Regions from separate parts of the Homo sapiens genome. Here region 1 is linked to region 2. The links are contacts of gene promoters, found by promoter capture Hi-C in human tissues and cell types (Jung and others, 2019). All regions are on one chromosome and are shown on one strand. Each heading gives the region's core, a stretch centred on a gene start or on the middle of the fragment in contact. The rest is flanking DNA. Distances are from core to core; before and after follow the strand shown.

Evidence for each region. The method cuts DNA at HindIII sites, captures the fragments that hold promoters and counts their contacts. A contact is called where the count stands out against the background at its distance.
Region 1: a contact is called between a fragment that was not itself captured here and the fragment with the promoter of SSH2 in region 2, in 2 of the 25 tissues and cell types used here (adrenal gland and aorta).

What each region holds. Positions count from the first base shown.
Region 1 is chr17:29,884,299-29,889,067 of GRCh38, reverse strand. The region is part of intron 1 of SSH2 (slingshot protein phosphatase 2); the gene reads left to right. Among named protein-coding and RNA genes, the nearest start is that of SSH2, 44 kb to the left of the region's middle. The HindIII fragment of the contact is 5,413 bases long and covers 317-4,769 here.
Region 2 is chr17:29,926,892-29,932,088 of GRCh38, reverse strand. It overlaps SSH2 (slingshot protein phosphatase 2), which reads left to right and starts at 1,861. Exons shown (of 16, transcript NM_001282129.2): 1 at 1,861-2,151. The coding sequence starts at 2,089. It also overlaps a transcript of EFCAB5 not described here. RefSeq lists silencers at 679-848, 1,582-1,671, 1,822-2,101, 2,612-2,661. The HindIII fragment of the contact is 11,754 bases long and covers 1-5,197 here.

The DNA.
Region 1 (4,769 bases), core at 1,774-4,273, 44 kb after region 2:
GGTGTCTTAGCACCATTTTTTTTTAAGAAAACTAAACTCAAATTTTATATACAATGCCTTTAATTTTATTTTAAATTAGAAACATAGTAGTCTTTTTTTCTTTTCTTTCCTTTTTTTTTTTTTTTTTTTTTTTTTTGAGATAGTGTCTCACTCTTTCACCTAGGCTGGAGTGAAGTGGTGCACTATCATGGCTTCAACCCTCCGAGCTCAAGTGATCCTCCCACCTCAGCCTCCTGAGTAGCTGGTCTACAGGAGTGTGCCACCACGCCTGGCTTTTTTTTTTTTTTTAAGTTTTTTGTAGGGATGTGATTTTGCCATGTTACCCAGGCTGGTCTCACACTCCTGGCCTAAAGTGATCCTCCCACCTCAGCCTCTCAAAGGGCTGGGATTACAGGCATAGCCATTGCAGCTGGCTGTCACTTTCTTTATACTGACTTTTTCTACTGTTTGTATGGTTAAGGTTGCTGTTAATACTGTAGAAATATAAACCATCAAAATATTTGGTCTATAAAAATTACTAGGTTTTTGCTTTACACTTATACGGATTCCATCCCAGAGAGTTGTCCAGTTTCCAAGCTGTCCATGCTATGGCACTAAGTCTCATACATAAAACTCCAACTCTGCTTTCTTGGGATTTCAGTGGGAAAGAAATACACTGAATGCCTGATTCTCTCCAAATCTCTTTCCAACCATCCAATGGAACCATAAAGATTCCTCAGTCTTAGACTTCGTGATTTTAGGCTTTTTCTCACCACTATCTGTTAGTTTCCATGGTAGAGTCAAGTGCAGTCTCTGTCTCAGCATAGTTTCTTTCTGGGGGTAGGGTGGATGGGACAGGGTCTTACTCTTTCGGTCAGGCTGGAATGCAGTGGCATGATCATGGCTCACTGCAGCCTCAACCTTCTGGGCTCAAGTAATTCTCCTGCCTCAGCCTCCTGAGTAGCTGGGACTACAGGCATGTACCACTATGCCTGGCTAACTTTTAAATTTTTTTGTAGAAATGAGATCTCACTACATTGCCCAGGCTGGTCTCAAACTCCTGGGCTTAAGTGATCCTCCAGTATTGGCCTCCCAAAGTGCTGGGATTGCAGTCATGAGTTACCACGCCTGGCCTCAGCATAGTTTCTTTCATAATCTTCACATATACTAATCTGCAAAAACTATATTGTGTTCTGTAAGGTCATCTTAGTTTTTATAAAAGATAAGGAAATGTTTTCTTCACATTAAATTACATTAAAATAAGCTGAAAGCACTTATTTATTTTCTAAAATTAGTATTTAGTAATAGCATTCCCTAACCTGAACTGCAGAAGACCATTTAAAAGTAGCTCTGTTCCCTCTACTATGATGACCAGGTTTCTGCTCTTCAAAGAGAAAGAAATAAGAACAACCAACATTGGCTTACTCTGTGCTAGGCACTATTCTGAACTCTTTATCAATATGATCTGATTCAGTCCTGACAACCACCCTCTGAAGATGTGTACTATTACCATCCTCATTTTACAGATGAGGAAATAGAGGCACAGATAAGGGGTAGGACAGGATTAGAATCCAGGCAATCCGACTTCAGAGACCCTTGTCTTGAAAGCACGTACCAAAGATTGGCCTGCCTTACCCTTCTTGTCTTAAACTCCAGTCTTGAATTCCATGTCATTTTTGATGGGTCTAGGAAATAGGACCTAGGAAATACACCTAAAGTACTCTGTTTTGTTTTTGTTTATTCTTACTAAAGCTCAAGTTTATCCTCTATTGATCCTCACTAAATAATTTCGTAGTTATAATATCTAAGATGTACAAAAATTTCTATGCCTGCTCCAAGATTTTTTTTTATTGTGTTCTATGCTAATAGCTTGCTTTTATAACACTACTACTGATCTCAAGTATTAAGTTGTTAACAAAATATCCTCTATAGGCATATAATTAAATAAGATAGGTGGCCCCAAAGTAGTATAAGCTGCATGATGTTGAAGAAATTACATTGGCTCGATAGGAGAGCCATTCATCTGGCTTTGCTACCACTTAACTCTGGCTCTGGTCAATCTTTTCATCTTTCTAGTCCTGGTTTTCTTATCCGAGAAAAAAATCTTTAATCTCTAAGGTCCTGTCCAGCTTTAGCACTTAAGGATACCACATACTCTTGGTAAAGTGTCTTCAGAACTGTGTAATAGAAGTTGAAGGAGCGCTATAATTGGTGATTAACATTCAGCCCCTTGTTACTTATGCAACTTCTTCAGCAGGCTTGAATTTCTCCCCAGAAAATGGGTTATTTTCTATCACATCATCAGTCTGCAAATTTTTCAAACTTTTTTTTTTTTTTTTTTTGAGATGGAGTCTTTCTCTGTCGCCCAGGCTGGAGTGCAGTGGCATGATCTTGGCTCACTGCAACCTCCACCGCCTGGGTTCAAGCAATTCTCCTGTCTCAGCCTCCCGAGTAGTTGGGACTACAGGTGCACGCTACCATGCCTGACTAATTTTTGTATTTTTAGTAGAGACAGAGTTTCACCATATTGGTCAGGCTGGTCCCAAACTCCTGACCTCAGGTGGTCCATCCACCTCAGCCTCCCAAAGTGCTGGGATTACAGGTGTGAGCCACGACACCCGGCCATTTTCCAAACTTTTATGCGCTGCTTCTTCTTGAACACTTTGCCACTTAGAAATTTCTTCCACCAGATACCTAAATCATCTCTCTCAAGTTCAAAGTTCCACAGAACTCTATGGCAGGGGCAAAATGCCACCAGTCTCTTTGCTAAAACATAGCAAGAGTCACCTTTGCTCCAGTTCCCAAGTTCCTTATCTCCATCTGAGACCACCTCAGCCTGGACCTTATTGTCCATATCGCTATGAGCATTTTGGTCAAAGCCATTCAACAAGTCTCTAGGAAGTTACAAACTTTCCCATATCTTCCTGTCTTCTGAGCCCTCCAAGTTTCTAGGAAGTTCCAAACTTTCCCACATTTTTCTGTCTTCTTCCGGGTCCTCGAAACTGTTCCAACCTCTGCCTGCTACTCAGTTCCAAAGTTGCTTCCACATTTTCGGGTATCTTTATAGCAGTGCCCCACTACCTGGTACCTATTTACTGTATTAGTCTGTTCTCACGCTGCTAATAAAGACATACCTGAGACTGGGTAATTTATAAAGGAAAGAGTTTTAATGGACTCACAGTTCCACATGGCTGGGGAGGCCTCACAATCATGGTGGAAGAATAAGGAAGAGCAAAAGGACATCTTACATGGCGGCAGGCAAGAGAGCCATGTGCAGGGGAAATCCACTTTATAAAACCATCAGATCTCGTGAGACTTGCTATCACCAGAACAGCACAGGAAAAACCAGCCTCCATGATTCAATTACCTCCCACTGGCTCCCTCCCATCACATGTGGGAATTATGGGAGCTACAATTCAAGATGAGATTTAGGTGGGTACATACCCAAACCATATCAGTAAGCATTATTGATTAAATCATTGGTCATTGGTAACTGACTCAATCTCCACTCCTTCCCTGGTTATGTGATGGAGCTGAAAATTACAAGCTTCTAATCAAGGATTGGTGTTTCTGGTGACTAGCTCCCATCCTAAAGCTATCTAGGGGCCAGCCAAGAGACACTTCCTTAAAACTAAAGATGCTTCTATCACTCGTGTCACTCAGGAAATTCCAAGGGTTTTAGGAGCTCTGTGTCAGGAACTGGGGAAAAAGACCTGATTTTTTTTTTTTTTTTTTTTTTTATGATACAATAGCAAGAAACCCCAGTCTTTGGTTAATAAGAGTTAAAAGTTAGTACCTGCTTGATAGAAAAAAAGCATAATATGCAATAGGTTGCATAAGACTTGGTGAGAAGAAAGAGGAACAGCAAAAGCATGGAAGCCAGAGACACTTGGATAAGTGTAAATGAATTCAGTACTCTAGATAATAAAGCACGTGATGGGAGAAAAAGGGAGGTGCTAGATTAGAGAACTAAGTAGGCAAGAGCCAAGACCTTGGAGGCTTTTTATGCCTTGGTAAGAAATTTAAACTTAAACTTTAGCCCGTACTCAGGCTTTACATTGCATCAGAATAAGTTGAAAAATATGTAAAAATGCAGATTGACCCAGGAATATGCATCTTTACAAGCATCCACAGGTAACCCTGACACAAAAAATACTGCTTTTGGCAGTGAGGAACATAAAAGTTTTATGTAGAGATGTAAGGTCAGAGTTACAATTTAGAGTGGATTGTTGCAGTTGCCAAGTCCTGGAACTAACATAGACTCAAACTAAGGCAGTTGTGGTTGGGATAGACAGGATGAGATAGATTACAGAAATATATAAAAAGTGAAGTGGTAGAGGCCTGATGATGGATTATGAGGTGAAATAAAGATAGAAGACTGGTTAACTCTTGAAGACTTTGAGCTTGGTTGGGCTGAGTAGATGGCAGATGATATTAACAAAAGTACAAGAAGTAAAGCTTTAGTGGGAAGATGAGTTCAGTTGCGGACCAGCTGAGGTATGTAATCCTGTGGAATATGTTAGCAAACATGTTCCAATTAGGCAGTAAGATATCCAAGAAGACCAGTGATGAAAATATCCTAAAGTAATGTTTGTAGTCTCTTGAAGCTGTGAGAGAGATGACATCACTCAAGGAATGCCCATGGAGATAGATGCCAAGGACAGAACCCTGAAAGCCCCCATATGTAAGGGGTAAAAGTAGAAAAGGAGAATTTGACAGACTGAAAGGAGCAATCAGAAAGCAATTTGTGGAAGACCAGTAGAAAATAGTGTGCCAAAAGTTTTAGGAAG
Region 2 (5,197 bases), core at 612-3,111:
CTCAAGAATCTTGTCAGTTAGGGTTCCATTGTAGAGATAAAGGAATTAAAGCTCAAAAAGTTCAAGCCATTTGCATAAGGTTTTAGAGCTGGAACTAGAAACCAGGTCTTCTGATTCCTATGGTAGTGCTCTTTCTCACTGCAAGGTTAATGGACTTAAGCCTTTCATCTTCCAAAAGAATTTCTGAAGAGTATGTTACCATGAAAAAGTAGAACATCATTGTTGCCCTCCCTGAGTCAGAGAATCAACATACAAGTACTAAGACCTACAGATTTGAATATTACTTTTTCTAGAATGATACTTTGGTTCATAAAGCACATATATTTCATTTATTTGAGTTCATTCAGCTTCTAGCTATGTGTATTTTTTGGCTATGTATCTAGTTTCCTCTTTGGTCTCCCATGCATTGGTTCAAAGTTCTTACTTCTGAAACTTGCCTTCTCTTTTCCTGTTTACTACGGAGCTCTGGGGAAAACACAGTCAGATTGTTTAATCTGTGAACCATACATCTTTGTTTAATTTTGTCTCACAGGCACTCCTGATCACCACCAGGGGGCAAAAGCCTACCAGCTGGCTTCTCTGCACTACACTCTACATAGGACTGTACAGTACAGGGACCCTCAGTGTCTGATTCTTGATGGAACCTCCCTGCTAATTATTTCAACCACAGGGCCCCAGGGAGAGAACAAAGGCTCAGCACAGAGGACTCTTGTGGCGTTTAACCGTACAGCAGCCAGAAAGAGCTCATGACAGCCCTGTCAGTTTAAAAGAAGCAATGAGATCCAAGAGTGTTTGAGTGACAAACAGGAGGGGGTGGGTTTTAATAACTGCAAACTCCCAAGTGTGTGTGTTTTCTACAGCTTTGATATGTACGGTGGTATTTACCAGCTCATCCACTCAAGCTGAGAAATAGCCTTGTCAACTCTCTTTCTTTGTGTAAATAATCAGTGATATTTGCATTGTGCAATTTTTTTCCTTTTTAATCTTGATTTTCCATTACATTCTTTGCTTATGTTCTGCAGACAATTTACCCCTGAGAAAACCATTCCCTTAAAATATCTTTTAATCTACATTTTTACATAGGTCTATGAAAGAATGACATTTAGAGACGAAGGAGAAGAAAGCTTAACGAGCAAATCCTGTTTAATTAAAAGACTGTCTTCACAGCAGGAGGCAAGTGAGAGGTCAATAGCAGGCTGGACCCTCACAACCGGCTTCCTCGGACTCCCAGGCGCGCTCAGCTTCTCTTCTCCTCAGGAATAATGAATAAGTCTTTAGACAGGCAATAGAGGAAGCATGAGGGTACCACAAACCTTTCCAGGGTATCAAACGGAAAATGGTTTTCTTTCCAGAAGTCTCATCATAAAACATAGACGGAAGGGGGGGAAAAGTTAAGAAAAAGCCCCCGAGAGCCGGGGTGAAGGGAGTAAACTGGTCTAGCCCAGTTCTGTCTGCGCCCAGTGAGAGGGTTTGAAACTCCGCGGAGCCCTTTCCCAATAGAAAACGTGTTTGCTTCAGGATTTTCATCTCAGCTGCTTTTTTTTAAGGTTGGTTAAGCTGTGCGCCGCCCCACCTCATAAAATGGTTGTCTCTCAGGAGTGAAGACTCCAGCGGCCCCCCGCCCTGGGACCCCTCACCGGGCTGGCTCCCTTCGGCCCCTTCCCCCACCCCACTCCACAGCACCCAGTGCTGGCAAACCGCGCGATTCCAGCACGAAGGAGGAAACCCAGGAGGGTGCGGCGGCCCGAGGCGCACGCACTCGGCCAGCTTCCGGCAACTCAAGGGTTACGACCAGGCGGCGGCGCGCGCCGAGGGGAGAGGCGGTAGCTGACAGGTGGCGCCTGCGCACTGGGAGCGCTCATTGTGCCCCGCAGCTGCGGAACCGCCCGCCCGCCGCCCGTTCGGAGCGTCAGTCGGCGACAGTCTGGTGGTGGGTGCGGAGTCTGCGGCCGTTCCCGCGGCCTCCTCCTCCTCCCCGTTCCCTTCACCCCCACCCCGCACCCCTTTCCCCATCCCGGCTCCGTCACCCTCCCGTCCCCCACACTCAGGACAAGAATGCCCTGCCCGGAACAACCCAGCAGCGCCTAGATGGCTTTGGTCACGGTCCAGCGGTCACCTACCCCCAGCACCACCTCCAGCCCCTGCGCCTCGGTGAGTCCTTCCTGGCGGCCGCTCCGCTTGCTTCTGTCACTGCGGCTCCGCTTTGCCTCAGCGGGTCCCGCCGAACGCCACTGCGCACGCGCCGCGCCGCTTCCCAGGCCTTGGCACTCGGCTGCCGCGAACCCCCCCACACCCCCATGTTAAAGACTAGCAGCAGGAACTACAAGACGTTGATTTTTGCCCCCATCACCCTGAGCACCTAGCTCCTCACAATCCTCGCCCTGAAATCCCCTGTGGCATGCCTCCCTATGGCTTGAGCACTTCCTTTTGGTAATGAGTCATTCTTGCTTTTCACCCTCCCCCTTCTTTTACCCTCTGTTGCTCTGCTGCAGGGAGGGGACCGTGAGCCTCCTGCGTTGCCCCTTACCCACACCCACATCTCTTACCCACACCATTTCATAGACCTGTTCAGTATTTGCACACTGCACACCCTTCTTCGTACTCGCCAGGGTGTGTGCCTTCCCCTAGTCACTTGCTGGCTTTCTTTTGCTCTGTACTGTTCAGGCTTTGAACTGCCCAACCGTAGTTATTCCTTGGTTTCTCCCGCCTGCCCCCCACCCCAGAGGGTAGCAATGATCTCTGTTTCCTGGACCTCTTACCTTTCCTTTATGAGGTCCCGAAGCATCTGGTGCTGCTTAGTGATCAGTGTCAAATTATTTCCGTCTTACAGATATTTATGCCTTACACTCATTGCTCGTGATCATTCTTGTTCTAAGGTCGTGTTTGTATGGCTCGTTACCTCAGATGCCTATGCCAATAAAGCATGCTCTCAGAAGGAAAATACCCAGTAACCAGCCTTTCCCCGCTGGGCCCGTCTTTGCCTTCTCTCCTCGCCCCACCCCCATTCGTTTACACTCCATTCTCTTAGGCTCCATTTTTGAAAATATTTATTTTTAAAAACAATATATTGCACCAGTGGGGCAAATGGGCTTTAAAAAACCAACATCCAGATGTTTTAGAGAGAAATAAACTGAGTGAAAATGCGAGCAACTGGGAAAACCACCTTGAACTTCCTACAGAACTGTAATTTTAAAAACGGTGTTGGTGGATTTGGTAGTATCAGGTTGCAAAAAAAGGTATTTAATAAACACTGTACCACTTTCCACTGTAAAAAAATCATCAGGTTACCCTTAATATTTGTATGTTAACTGAGGTGTGAGCTTTGATATCCTGAAATTTGCTGGCTTGTCATTTCAGTATAATTTCCTGAATTTCAAAGTTTTGTTGTGTATGGTTGTGGTTTCTTCTTTTCTGAGCTTTAATTGCATTTTGTGTGATGAAATTGACAACTATATCTTAATAAGTGATTTTATTTCAAAGGTTATATATCTTGTGTTGTTTCAGAGAGCAGAACTGGGATTCTTGGTTCAGGGAGGCAGATTTCCAGTGATTGTAAGGAAGAATTTGTAACAGTGGAGTGCACTGCCTTGCAAAATAGTGAGTGCACATTGCTGGAAATATTCAAGCAAAGGCTGGAGAACATTTTGCCTGGGAGGTGGTATAAAGAATTCCTGCAGTGGGGGACTTCTAAGACTATTTCTAATCTAAGATTTTGTGATTTGAGAATACTTGTACTTCAAAGCTGGTAAAACATTTTAGGGTCATCTGAAGACAAGTATCATAGGAATAAATCTTTAATATAATTTATTCTTATGTGTAGTACTTTATGCTAGTTTTTGGAAAGTCATTAACATACCATCAAACCTTCTTAATTCACTCCACTAGTAAACTCTTTGGTTTGTGGTTACTAGGCCTGATTTTGAAGAAATCGATTGAAAGTTAGTAGAGTCATGCAAATAAACTAGAAATCAGTACTATAGTAACATTTATTTTCCTTGGGCACTGTTGAAAATAGCTTATGCTATGATAATATATGTATATCAAGTTGTCATCATACTAATTTACTTGAAGTGAATGATTAGTATACAGTAAGACCGTGTACACTTGATATGACTTCATTAGCCAAAACTTGAGTTACTTTAGAATCTTGAGGTATGTTAATAGTCACTTTTGACATAGGTAATTAAATTGATCATGTAATAAGCTCAGTTGTTGAGCAAAATCACTAATATTTCTATATCTACTAGCCTGGTTATTTCAGTTGTTTATACTTGGCCCTGAATGCAAAGGAATCCTAAGGCTGGTGTAACAATCAGCATCATTAGTATAACTGATAAGCCAGCTTCCTTTCTCTTTAAATTGTCTTCCTATTGGACTTCATCCAGAATTGTGTTCAGCTGAGTTGTTTCGAGGTCCTTGTACTCTAGCATTTGGCTGCTGTCTGACCTCCATATATTTTGCTGTTCTATCTCTTGCTGTATGAATAGGTTGGGTTGTTTGTTTTAAAATAGAGAGCAAAAAGAACCTAGAGGACCATGAAAGAAGAGATTTAATTTTGTGAGACTGGAAATTTACATTTTTTTATTAATCACTTTAAGTACGCTGTTAATACTTTTACACTATAGGATGCAGGGCATTTTAATACTGCCAGCTCTTTAGTGTTGTTTCATTAGGCATTAAACAATATGCTAGGTGTGAGTGACCATTGTAGATACTAAGATGTATAGGAAATTGACCTGTTCATCAGGATCTTGCAATCTGGGGGGCTGGGGCATTGGAGGAAGAACAAACATAAGGTAAGAGGGAAAAGAAGAAGAAGGGGAATGATACTGTAGGTACCTGAAGAGTTTGTGATGGTCATAAGTATTGTCTGAATTCAGATTAAGATAAGTTCACTAATGGCAATGTTAATAATAAGAGTATAACAATATCTAACATTTCTTGGGTCCTCATCTATGCCAGGCATCATGTTAAGCGCTTTACATGAATTAATTCATTTACTTTACACAGTATGCCTTAGGGAAGTTGCTCTTATCCCCATCTTAAAGATGAAGCTGAGGCAGAGTTATTAAGGAATATGCGCAGTGTCATTCAGCCAGTAAGTGACTGGAGTTATAATTCAAACCCAGATGTGTCTAACTTTAGAATCTGCCATCTTTTCCTCCTTGGTGATCAAAAAGTATGCCTAATAGGTGGC